Linked DNA regions of Homo sapiens: regions 2 and 3 are each linked to region 1. Evidence: promoter capture Hi-C in human tissues and cell types (Jung and others, 2019). All regions are on one chromosome and are shown on one strand. Each heading gives the region's core, a stretch centred on a gene start or on the middle of the fragment in contact. The rest is flanking DNA. Distances are from core to core; before and after follow the strand shown.

Region 1 (4,441 bases), core at 1,351-3,850:
TCTGGAAGTCTATCTCAATAGTTGCGGCTATACCTGAGATTGAAAAAAAATCTAGTGTAGCTCACCATGGTGTGACTAAGTTGCAAAATAGATTGTCTTGGGTGGTTATTAAACAATTTCAGAAGAGAATACATTAAATTATCTTAATGTTGTGCCGGAATAAGTGTATAGAGCAGACCACAAAATAGGGGAACAAGTGCCAGCCATGAGCCAGCTGATTTGATTTACGCTCCAGGCAATCGCCAGAAATTAGGTTGTTAAGCTGAGGGAACAAGATCGGTATTTAAACTGTCTTTATATGATATCATAGCCACACACCACCAGCCTTACCACCTTTATGGTGCTTTAATATAAAAATTGGATATTTGTTTATAAGTCTAATTCGTTTATGTTCTTTAAAATACACACCACCCTGAACGTTTACAAGAAATATGAATAGCATAAAAACCCTTTGCATAGTTGAAAAGCCGAGATGTATCTTATTTTTATTGGCAGTTAATGTAGAGGCCTATATAACAGCTGCCTCAATAGCCACTAGATTAGGGACATAAAACTGCAAAACCTGTTCCCTGTGCGGGAGGGGAAACAGAAAAATAAGAGAAGCGCCCTCACCCAGGTTTTGGAATTCCAAGAAAGGTGTTGAACGCCTGATGAAGAATTCATTTTGAATATAACTGTCTTCATTTAGGGAGGGTGTGTGAGTGTTCCGTTTGTCTTTGAAATGAAACCTTTCCAAGAGGCACGTGTTGATTTACCAAAGACAGAATGGCAAGGGGGAGCCCAGAGGCAAGAACTGGTGAAATCTCTCAGAAGACGCGGGAAGAAGCCTTTTTTCCCCTGCAATCTCTCCCGCCTCTCTCCAGAGTCCAGGAGGAGGCAGTCCCCGTGGCTTAGGCTTTATCTTTAAGACAATAGCGCCGCTCGCCGCCACCCGCGCGACTCGGATCGGGCATCCCGGCGGCCGCACCCCGCGCGCTGGCTCATCTGCACACCGGCCACCTGCATTGTCGGCCAGAGCCCCCGTCCCGGCGGCTTCCCCAGCAGCTTGGCTGCCCCTCAGGTCCTCCCATCCCACCTTGCACCTCCAGGACGCCCTGGACCCGCCCATCCTCCTGCCCCACTAGCTCATCGACTTACGACTCCCTCAGTCCCTACGGCCCACGGAACCCTCTCCCCAACCCGCGCCACAGCCCGAGCGGCGGCGGCGGCCTTAAGAAGCCCGCAGTCCCGCCCGCGCCGCCCCGCCGGGGCCGGAGGTTGGAGCCGGGAGCACGGCCGCGAATCCCCGCACGTCCCCAGCGCTCCGCGACACCGGGCCCTGCTCGCTGCAACTCGGGGACGGCCTGCGTCTCGCCTCCACCCTGGCCGCGGGCCCCTCGAGCTTGTTTGCTTGTCCTCAGTCCCAGGGCCAGCCCCGCTCCCTCCTCCCGGCTGCTCCAACAGCCGTTTGCTTCCTGCGGTGTGTTTCTTTTTTCCCCTTCCTAGACTCCATCAAAGGTGGCTCTGTTATTGAAATATGAAGCCATTTCCTCTCCAAAACCCTTGGTTACTCAAGGCGGGAATCAATGGACCTATATACTCTCCCAGAAGTTATAAATAAACGTCTATTTGTTCAGGAGGCGTTTTCCCGCGTGTCCCAGCATCTTCCCCACTGGTTATTTCAGGGGTGTGTGTGTCTGTGTGTGTGTGTGTGTGTGTGTGTGTGTGTGTGTGTGCGCGCGCGCGCCCTGTGCCCATCTGGTTCTAATCCTGGTTATGGATCCACAACCCAACCCCACCCATCCCGTCTCCCCCTCGCATTCCTCGTTCTATAAATAAATCCAGGTTCTTTGAGCTCTGTCATCCAAGGATACAATAGCAGTTGTTTGTTAAGAGAAATTTAAACTCAACACCAATACTGAGTCCAGTAAACCAGAAAATATGCTTCTGGTGATTTGGGTGGAAGGCCATCTCCAGTTTAAGAAGCTTTATGTGCCACTATCATCATTGTCTGTTATCCTTGATCTCCTTTGGTGAGGGGAAGGCGGGAAAGAGAGGACCTCTCCGACCCTTGGATTTTTCTTTTAAGCAGAGGCTAATAAAACAAAGCGCAAACTGACTGTCCTGAGGAGTCTGCTCACACCGCTGCCCCGCAGATCATTCCACAGACCCCTTGTCCCATCCCTTCTGGACAGACCCAGGACTGATGAGGGTTCGGGTTCGGGAGGTGTGGTGTGGTGGGGGCTTGTGTGGCTGTAGCGGCCGGCTTTCCTAAACCCCAGAGCGGGATACTCGGGATCTGAGCAGAGGGGAAAGTCATCTAAGAGGCTGCTGCTTTACAAGGTCTGGGCACAGAGCTGCCCCTCCCTTCCTCCCTGAAGTTTGCATGAAGTGCACATTAGGCTGTAATTAGGGGATTTGGGAGGAGAACTTTCCTGGTGACGCTTTGCTTTTCTTCTGCTCTTGGTGAGAAAGTGCCTCCTTCTTCCCAGGATCAGGACCTCTGCCATCCAGCGCCACAAAGAGACATTCTGCACACACACTCACACACGCACACACACACACACTCTCACACTCGCCCAGAGACAAACTTAAGGTGAGGAGAAAGAGCGCTAGCTTCACTTGATCTCCAGCTTCCAACTTAAGCAGAACTTGAGAGCATCCGAACTCCTGGATTTCAGGACAAGGTAAAACTTGCAAATTGTTTCCCCCTCTTTTGGTTATACCTTTGTGCCTTTAAGATTTCAGAGGGCAATACACATGCAATGTATATATACATTAAACAAATTTTATTCTTTTCTTTTGAGTTTAGTTTTCATTTGAATTTAATATGACACCTCAACTTTTAAAAAAGTTTCATATTGTCGGATAAAATATTTCACTACAATAAACAGGCTCAGTCTAAAAATGGAGAAAGAATTAACTCTAGTATCTTAGCTTCTGCTAGTGCTCCTGTAAATCTGGTAGGGTCATGGTTTCCAAGTGGTGACTTTTCTATCTGTATCTCAACAACCATTTTTATAGCACCTGAGATGAAACAAGGATAGTATAGGCTGAAGGGAAAGGTGAGGAATGGGAATGTCCAGCCAGGCTTATGAATTTTGTTTCAGAGAATATATAGGGTTATGTGAAAAAGAAAGTTACTTTAGGCATAGGTAATACCTGTTAGATTAATAATCTTAGAAATGTTGCCATTTTTGGCCCAGGCTTCCTTCTCCAGCTAATTATGAACTTAAGATCATAGAATGATGATGCATTTCATATATACAATGATGTTGATGGATAATTTGAATGCACTGAAGAGAATTTATAGTCATAGTTAAGATTACTGTTAAAAGTTGCTTAAAGAAATTATTTGTATGTTGAGACTGTTCCCCACCAAAAACAAACCTAAACTTGTTTGGGCTTCGATTAAGTAGTTTTCTTCCATTGAATGTGACTGTTGTGTTCAAAATAAGATGGCTTATTAATTTGAGAATAAGTTGCTTTATTTTCATTTATCACTGGAAAAATACACACAGTGGCCAGTACATTTGGGAATTTTTAGGGTGGAAAGTGTTCCTGTACATGTTCCAGTGTGATGTCATAAAATCAAACATACTGGCTGGCTTCTTGGAAGCTAATAGTTCTTAAGAAATTAAGGCTGTGGATTGATTTCTAAATGAATGTAATATTTATTCATTACAATTGTAGTTTCTGGTAACTATTTCTATGTGATTATTTCTGTGTACTAAATTTGCAGAGATTTTATACACATTTCAGTCATTTCAGTATTTTAATGGAATGGGAATATTGTTCTATCAAAAGTATATCATAGTAGTTATCTTTGGAGAATTTTTAATGTGATATGATTCATAATTCTTATATCAGTTAACAAATTCCATTTACCTACAAAAATGAAAGTTTCTCTTCCATTCAGTAAAATATAATGTATACCAAAGGACTCTTCAGATATTAGCTTTAGTCTTTAGTCACTTTTATACCACCCATTTTAAAAAATTTAATTGTTTCAGCTAAGAAATGAATTTATACTTTTGTTGATGACCTCTTCCACTAAATTGGAAACAGCTTAAAAACAGAACTAGATAAGAAGTAATTTTACTTAAGGCTAATTAAATGAACAAGAGATAACCAACAACCTCAACAGACCACTGCTCTACAGGAGGAATGTACCCAGAGGCCAGTATTCTCGACAGGAATGCCTTATGGGCCTGGGCTTTCTATGAGAAACAAGAAGGTGGGGAAACATTATGTACTTATTTATAAAATGAGCCATTTATTTTCAGCAAGGCCCTGTCTCTCAGAGGAATGACTGACACTGTAATTTAGAAGTACTGAAGAGACTTTCACAGAGAAGAATCAATTCATTATATCCCTAGTGGTTTCACTTCCTTTTCCTTCCTTTGGGAGCAAGTAACACATCCAGGATAAATACATTCAGAGTACACAGAAAGATACTTTA
Region 2 (4,441 bases), core at 1,147-3,646, 560 kb before region 1:
TTAACAATTTCATGGTCTGGAGGCACAGGGGACCAGTAAATAGGACAAGTGCATGGGTATAGTAGCCATGCCGTAGGAGAAATGTCATGGGGCTTCTGGGAGGCATTGCTGCACCACTCATGAGTGCCAAAGAAGACAACTGGGACTTGGAAAGGTCACTTCACAATGAAGAGATAAAGACTAAAAGGAGCTAAAAGTAGAATAAACATATACATACAGAATATTTACAAATATTGACAATGCATTTTGTTTTAAAAATAGACAAATTAAACAACCCAAATGGCTAATGAATGTGACAAATCACAGACATGTATATTAAACAGACCTGGGGAGAAAATGAATAATAATGAGGGTGGGGATTCTTGGCAAAGGGAGCATCTGAAGTAAAGATGTGAGGTGCGATGATGGTGTTGAGAATGGAGGTGGAAGGAAGTGAATAGGTACCAGGATGTTTTAGGAGGTAGAATATGAAAAGGATTTGGTGATAGATTGAACTCTGGGAATGAGAGGAAGGGGCTCCTCTACCTGGTCCTGTACAGCTGGATGAGTGGTGTGCTTTTCACTGAAAAGTTTTGCGGGGTGGTTTGAGGGAGCTTATGTTCAATTTTGAACATAGTAAACTTGTGATCTCATAGAGACATATGACTTAAGATACCTGGTGGGCAAACAAAACAAACAAAAAAGCTTACAGAGGAGTAGAAAGAAAACTAGGAATATATGCTAGGACACAAGGAATATATGTAAAACATTACTTTTTTCCAGAAGGGATAATGCACTGTGGTGCCCAGTGATAATGAGAGATTGAGGAAGATTTGTGAATTATAAGTAGTCGTGTTCAATATGGTTAGAAATGTGGACAGGGATTTGTGTGCTGTTCTAAATAATTGAGATGATTGTTGCAAACTCAGTGTTGCACCACTGAAGGTTTTTAAGCTGTAGACTGGTTTCATTTAAAATGGCCTCTGAAGGAAAACCTAGAGTCACACTTTGCTTCAAAAATAGAAGACTTTAAAGATACCTCAGCAAATCCAGAGTTATCCTAGTTTTGTTCTTATGGAAAAAATTGAAGTTAGGGTGAAGAAAATTGTGCTTTTAAAAAGACAGCAGTCAACCATAATCACAGCAGTTTCTGAACCTAACTAAACATGAATAGTTAACTGATCTTATAATTATTATAATGATTATCACCATGATGTTATGATTATTGTATCATCAACAGCCATCTATTAAATACCAATATGGGATGGCACAATTGGGAATAAACCGTAGCCTTGCTTAGTGGACATTTATAGTCAGCTCTTTTATATGTTTCTTATGCTCTATATCTGCTCCTATATATGAATACTGAACACATCAGCCCAATATAAACTTTACCAGCTTACCTTCTTTCACAGTAACGTTGGTTAAAAAAAAAAAGAAATAGATGCATTTTATTTATACCCTTTTATATTTCCTACGTAACATTTGATCAGGTAATTTCAAGAACAAATCGAATGATAAAATGTGATCTCTCTGTACTAGTTTTTCAAAAAGTGTGTGAAACAGACTGAAAAAGAAATAACAGTTACTGAATATTAATATTATATACTTAACTACATATTTCACCTTCCTCAAAGTAAAAAAAAGAAAGCTGAACAGAAATCAGAGAAATGCAAGCTAAAACAATGCATTGATATGATACTATACTCATTGATTCACAGATAATAAAAAGCTGGGATATAAGCAGTAGAGACTTTAACCCACTGGTGGTGGGAATATAAGTAGATACCACTGCTTGAAAAACAATTTGAGAATAGTTTAGTAAATACACATCATTTCATGCAGCTACTTTATCTGTAGGTACATATCCAAAATAAATTTTTGCACAGGGTACAAGGAAAAATATATTAAAATGTAATTGCAAAAAACAGGAAAAACTTCAATCCCAAATATCTGTAAACAGGAGAATGAAGAAATAAATTATGGTAGATTTATACAATAAAATGCTATAAAGCAACTAAAGTGTATGAATTGAAGTTTTCTGGGTAAAACGGATAAATTTCAAAAACACTGTTTCAGGAAACAAAGCAACATATAGAAGGAAAGTTGATAACATATGTAAAATTTAGAGAGTAAAGTAGACCTCTAGATTGTTTTAAAAGTACAAATCATGCATTCATATTATAAATATAAAAATTGTATTAGTGGCTTCTGAAGAGGGTGCAAGAGAAAAGAATGTAATAAAAGAGGGGCACACAGAGACTTACAACTGTATCTTTAATGTTTTGTTTCTTTAAAAAATATGAGGCCGGGCACGGTGGCTCACGCCTGTAATCCCAGCACTTTGGGAGGCTGAGGTGGACAAATCACGAGCTCAGGAGTTCGAGACCAGCCTGGCCAACATGGTGAAACCCCATCTCTACTAAAAATGAAAAAAAAAAAATTAGCTGGGTGTAGTGGCCGGCACCTGTAATCCCAGCTACTTCAGAGGCTGAGGCAGCAGAATCACTTGAATCCGGGAGGCAGAGGTTGCAGCGAGCCGAGATCGCACCACTGCATTTATTCCAGTCCAGGTGACAGAGTGAGACTCCACCTCAAAAAAAAAAAAAAAAAAAAAAAAAGTGAAATAAAAGTTGAATATGCTGAAATCTGGCAGTTAGGTGGTAGATACATAGGTGTTCATTATACTATTCTTCATACTTCTTTTCACTCTTCAAATATCTCATAATTTAAAATAAGTATTTGGACTGCCTGGGGTTATAGTTTATTATTAGCAGAGCCAGGATTAGATTAGAGAGCATCTGGTTGTCATAATCAGAAGAGAACAAGCTGGAGTCAAGAGTATACACACAACTGCCCATGCAGAAAAAGAAAAAATGTGTACTTGCCATTTCCACACTGTGATCACAGATGTCACCCACAAACCATATTAACAGCTAACATTTTTAAGCACTGATTAGATACTTTGCTGAGTGTTTCATGTGGATTATGGCATTAGGATAAGATGGAAACATGAGTCAGATTTAAACAAGATCTAAAATGCACTATAGTGGAGTGCCCATTACTGAAAGGGAATGTGGGTTGCAAAAGGCATTCAAAAGGTAAATGAATAATGTGTTTGGGCTTGAAGTGATGTCAGACATGATAGAACCCACATTTCTCCATTTGTAGTCAAATTATTATTCTACTTTAAACTGATTTAGACAGTAGCCTATGAATAAAATATCAGAAATTATGAAAGTCATGTTTTGAATTCTGTTGATCACAGTAAAGGTAAGAAATAGAATTGAATGAGAACAAACTGGTAAGAAAAAGAGAATGCATTAGACTTCAGAAAACTTATAAGATTCCTTAAATAGGTCATGGAATACTTGTAGTTGATAATAATAATGGTCATTTATTGAACATTTAATATGTGCCAACCACTGTTCTCAGGGCTTTGCAAACATTAACTTATTTAATTTTCACAATGATCCTGTGAATTAGATGCCAAGGTTTTTATTTCCTTTTTTTTTTTTTTTTTTTTTTTGACAGAGTCTTGCTTTGTTGCCCAGGCTGGAGTGCAGGGGGTGATCTTCATTCACTGTAGCTTCAAACTCATGGGCTCAAGCAATCCTCCTACCTAAGCCCTCATCCTCCTGTGTAGATGGGACTATGGGCATGCACCACCACGCCTAGCTATTTTTTTAAATTTTTTGTAGAGATAGAGTCTCACCATGTTGCCCAGAACTCCTGGGCTCAAGCCATCCTACTGTGTCAGCTTTCCAAAGTGTTGAGATTTCAAGCGTGAACCACCACCCCTGGCCTAGGTTTTTCTCCTTTACAGAAGTGATCACCAAATTATAGATCTTCAGTGATTTTTCCAAACTTACAAAACTAGTCTATGACAAAGACAGAATTCCAGGGCTCACATTCTTAACCACAGTGCAGTGCCGACAGTCGTGGGATGAAAACGTGATTTTAAAAAATATATTCACAGATAGTGGCTCACAAGAAAGAAGTAAAGGCAACATCATACTTAATAGCCATAAGAATACTGTCTGATAAGAAAAACATACATACAGGTAGAGTAATTGTACAGAAAACACTGTAGACATGCTGGATCATTAGAATATACTAGTAAAATAGTCACCATTGAATGAATGCTTCTAGAGATCATGATCTGATTAAATTATATCAATTTCAAGGAGATGAAACTGAAGGCAGTACCAGTCATGGCCTGGGGGATGGGCACCCCTATTCTAAATGACACTCATTTCTACTCAGTAAAGTTAAAGAGAAGGGAAGGGCAATGAGGGATATGATTCCTGGGGCATCACAAGGAAACAATTCTTTGCTAGGCATTTTATAGAAAGCAAAGATGTAGAAACATTACATTTTGCCTCTCTTACTCAGCCATTGCCCTTTGGTGATACAAGTCATGTGAGAAGAGTGAAAAGCAAATGTGGCCAAAGTGTCAAGC
Region 3 (4,441 bases), core at 1,164-3,663, 520 kb before region 1:
CCTGAATAGTCCTGCACCTTTATTCAATTTTCATTGCCTTAAAGTTAGGCCTGTCTACTTTTTTATCAGTTGAGTTCTTTAAAGACATCCCAATTAAGGAGAAATTTAGCCTAGGGAGACAAGTTTTGCAGATAAGAAAATTACATTGTCAATGTTATATGATTAACACCCAAATGTGGATACACTATTTTCCTTTCAAGAAGGTCCTAATGATTCTGAAAAAAAAAAAAAAAAAACATTTAATTTTAGCTCCTGTTGTAACAGGAAGAAAAAAAATCCTCTAAAGCAGTCATTAACTCACTGTTACATAAAGGCAGTAGCACATTAGATTAGCTCTACGTAATCAAGCAGAAATTGTGCTTTATTTCTTATGGTTAGTGTCCTTGAGATGAGTTAAAACTACATGAAAAAGATAACTCCCCCTGACCAAAATGACACGTACAGATTTCACGGAAATATCTCATCTTTCTTCAAGTTAGACCTGCCCACTGTTTTTTTTTCTTCCCCCTTCATCTTTTGAATTTCAAAATATATTTTAATTAAGCCAAATGTGTCGATCTATATTTTGGGAACACATCATTTCAAAGCCATTGTAAAATTTCTGAATTATTTTGGAATATAAGCAATGAAAAGGCAATGATATTTTACTAAAAGACCTCACAGATATTAAAATGGTAAAAAGTCATGTTTGAAATAACTGTAACCATATGAAATACTTGGTTGTGACACACACACACATACACACACACACACACCGTTTGCCAAGATTCTACCATGAAGTAATTTTCTATCTTTAAATTCATCACCATTTATTTTTTAAAAGCATTGAAGTTTTATATTATTTATATCTCAGAAGACACAGAATATTCAGTATTCAGCCCTAAGCATCTCTACTGGGGTGGGATGATGGGCAGGGAAACCAGTAATTGGTCTAAGGCTGCATCTGCCAGGCACATGGATCAGTCATTTGTTTGTCTCTGTGTTTTGTGCTATTGGACATCAGACATTGGAAGTTTTACTATATCTCTGTTAATGGTAACTTTATTAAAGCAAGAGAGTAACATTCACAGGAAAATGGCAGAAATATAATATCATCCAATATATTTAAGAAGCATAGTCCTTTTTTTAAAAAATAGGCTGATGGCATCAAAAAGGATGGCATCAAAGAGGATCTTTTAAAAATCTTTCTTACAAAAAGCAAATATTTTACATTGTGTTTAGGATTATGGACTTTATTTAATAAAAGTATTAGATAATTTATTTTCTTTGTTTCTACCATGATTCAAATGAAATCTGATTATTCATTGAAACCTCATTTATAAGACAGAAGTCCTGGAATTCATCCAAGTATTATTCACTAAAGACTTAGTGAAACAAATTATGCCATATCCATTTACTTCAAAATTCTGCTTGTGGTGAATTTTAGTTAGTAATTTAGGTGATTTAATAAATATACTTCTATTTTCTAATGCAAACCTTAACCCATTGTACCAATGGATTTTTTTTTGACAACACTCTTAATCATTAAGTCTTGTCCAGCATTAACATTTTATGTGCAATGATTCTGTGGTTTTCTTAAGTGGATACTGTCACTGAGATTTGTGCCAGTATTGCTGATCAATTCATTACTTTTTAGTTTTCTGTTCTTTTGGTTTTAGCAGATTTGCTTTTTAGATTAGCTCATTTGTCCAGACTTAGGGAAATGAATTGAGGTTGAAGTGAGTAGTCTCCCACACATAAATAAAGCAGAAATCCATAGAACATAAAGGAGCCTGAGAGTATCAGCTTCCTGCTGTCAGGTGCTATGAAACAAAATAACATGGATGCTGTGACCATCTGAAATTCATATCTAGTGAGCTGGTAGCCTCGGCTTCATGGCTTCTCTAGTGACATTAAACAGCATTCTCATTGTAGAATTAATGATTCTCTCTTTCCTGTATTAAATTTTCAAAAAGATTATGAATTTATTAATTTTATTGAAAATGGATAAATCTGAGAAATCATTTATATTAACTTTTGATCTGCTTTATCCCTTACAAGTTTCTTCGTTTTATTTGCCCATGAATTTTCTTAGGTTTAATTTTCAATCCTCATTTTACAAAGCTAAAAAAAAAAAGGGTAAAAACAGTCATTAAATTTACTTTTGGACTTCATTTTCTCAATTTAAAATTGGACAACTTTCCAAAAATATTTACTCAGAACCAATTATATACACTGTGCAAAATTAAAACATTTGCCCTCCAAGGAAGAATAATGTCCAGCTTGGGAAACAAAGCTGGAAAATATTATGTACCATTCTGTTTAGAACTGGCTTTCGGTTATAGTTTAAAAGGTAGTGGGGTTAGAAGGGAATATCTGGAGACTGAAATAAATACTAAGGAGTTGAAGGTGGTGAAACTTGAATTCAGTCGACAAGGATGGTTTGGGTTTGGATAGGGAGGAAGGGCACATTTAATAAACAAAGGATATTTAAGGACAATTGAATAGATACACCAAAATATTGAATTGTAAGTCCCCTTATTATATCAAATCACCTAACTTAAAGATATTTACTACTTCCTTTAAGTAAGAGAATTTGTCCTAATTATGTTCTCAAAGACTAATAACAGCTGGGATATGAATGTAGGCTATTTGAGTCATATTACTTTCCAGCTTCCCAGTACTCTGGCTTACTTTTATAAAATACGTGTTTTTGTTCAGTTTAGTTTTAGTTTTCTTACTCAGTGGCAAAAATTGAACCCAAAGCTTGCATTCTTTTTTGTTATTTTTCTCATTTATACCTCTTTCTAAAATGAGAGAATCACAAATGCACTGGTAATTGCTGTTAAAATGATTCACTGTATAAATACATTGTAAAACCCATGTAAACTATATCACCACTAAACATTAAAAGTACATTTTGTGGTTCTGTTTAAATGAATCTACTTAATTAATAAATCATAGTTTCATGTTTTCTGAGTTAGTTTAAAAATCACAGATTTAATTTTTCATGAGATAATCTAATGGTCTTTAGAGCAACCATTGTCTTTATAATAATTATATTGTTTCCTTCCTACCCCAAGAAGGAAAATCTGATTTATATAATGACATATAGCTATAGAAACTATATATAATTATGTATATATTTATATGATGAAACATATACAGAGATGTAAGGCTTTCTTTGATTAATTTAATAATATTACAAAATGAAGCAGCTGAGCTTTATTTAATACAAATGACTGTATTAAACATTTGTGTATCTTTTCTTTCAACAAATATTTATTCAGTTCCTCCAGTGTTCCAGACACTGTTTTGAAAACTACGGATGTAATGGTGAGCAAAAAAATGCTACAGCCCTGTCCTCATGAAACTCTTAGTCTAATGGGAGAGACTAATAAAAATTCAATATATGTTTACATGCTAACTACATGTGTACAAAATTATGTTTTATGTGTTATATATTATCAATACTTCAATGGATGCCATTCTCCAAATTTTGCACAGGAATCACAATGCATGTAAAATGTTGATAGAATGGAAACATTTTGATTATTCAAGCATTTTCTATGCAAATCCAATGCTGTGCCTCACAGTGACCCAAATACTCTGCAGTTCTGAGATTGTGGAGTTGACCACATCATATGCTGTCTGAAATATTTGGCCAGAGGAAACTAATCATCTTTGTTATACTTTTCACAGGGAAGAAGTTAGTAATAGCAACCTTTAAGTACAAAGTCATATCCCAGTTGGGCCATTGGCCAAGGACAACAGATAAACAAATAATAAAACAAAAACCAAATTAACCCAAACCTCTCTCTCAGTACTTCTATGGATACGTCCGCAGGCAACTCCATATCCTTCTTTAATGACTGAGTTCACAAATTTAAATAATAGTTTACTCTAATTTTAGTAATGCCTCTGCTTCCCTCAACACACAAACATACACACACATGTAGAGCACTTGACATCTGGGTAGGCATAAATAATCAAGCATAAATATCATGATTGCTATTTTTGCATCACTGCAGTTGAATAAAACATTGTAAAATATTGTCAGAATACAATAATACATAGTTCTTGTTATGGAAATAACTAATGACTAGATAATTATATGCTTGAAAACATATTTGGTACATGCTTAACCAAATTTATGATATAGCCAACAAAAGGATCAATAAGTCACTCTGAATTAACATTCACATGTAAAATATGTTATAATATACTAAGAAATGTAGTTTTTATATTTCATAATGAGATTTTCCTATTTGATGGTAAGCCACACTGGGTGTAAAATTGTTTTTAATGGGTATAATTTCCAAGTTATAAAAGTTTACTTAAAACACTCAAAAATGAAACAGACAAAAACAGAATATGTAAGAATTGTTGAAACCACACAAAGAGACTGGAATCTGTCTAATGAATAAACTTAAGTGTTATAGTATCGTGTTGTATCAGGGTA

The links. Contacts are between HindIII fragments. The study calls those that stand out against the background at their distance.
Region 2: a contact is called between a fragment that was not itself captured here and the fragment with the promoter of HAPLN1 in region 1, in 1 of the 25 tissues and cell types used here (aorta).
Region 3: a contact is called between a fragment that was not itself captured here and the fragment with the promoter of HAPLN1 in region 1, in 1 of the 25 tissues and cell types used here (IMR-90 fibroblasts).

The regions. Positions count from the first base shown.
Region 1 is chr5:83,719,014-83,723,454 of GRCh38, reverse strand. It overlaps HAPLN1 (hyaluronan and proteoglycan link protein 1), which reads left to right and starts at 2,600. Exons shown (of 5, transcript NM_001884.4): 1 at 2,600-2,666. RefSeq lists a silencer at 956-1,015. The HindIII fragment of the contact is 27,926 bases long and covers 1-4,441 here.
Region 2 is chr5:84,280,015-84,284,455 of GRCh38, reverse strand. All of the region lies in intron 1 of EDIL3 (EGF like repeats and discoidin domains 3), which reads left to right. Among named protein-coding and RNA genes, the nearest start is that of EDIL3-DT, 100 kb to the left of the region's middle. The HindIII fragment of the contact is 4,880 bases long and covers 1-4,441 here.
Region 3 is chr5:84,234,461-84,238,901 of GRCh38, reverse strand. All of the region lies in intron 2 of EDIL3 (EGF like repeats and discoidin domains 3), which reads left to right. Among named protein-coding and RNA genes, the nearest start is that of EDIL3-DT, 150 kb to the left of the region's middle. The HindIII fragment of the contact is 4,508 bases long and covers 160-4,441 here.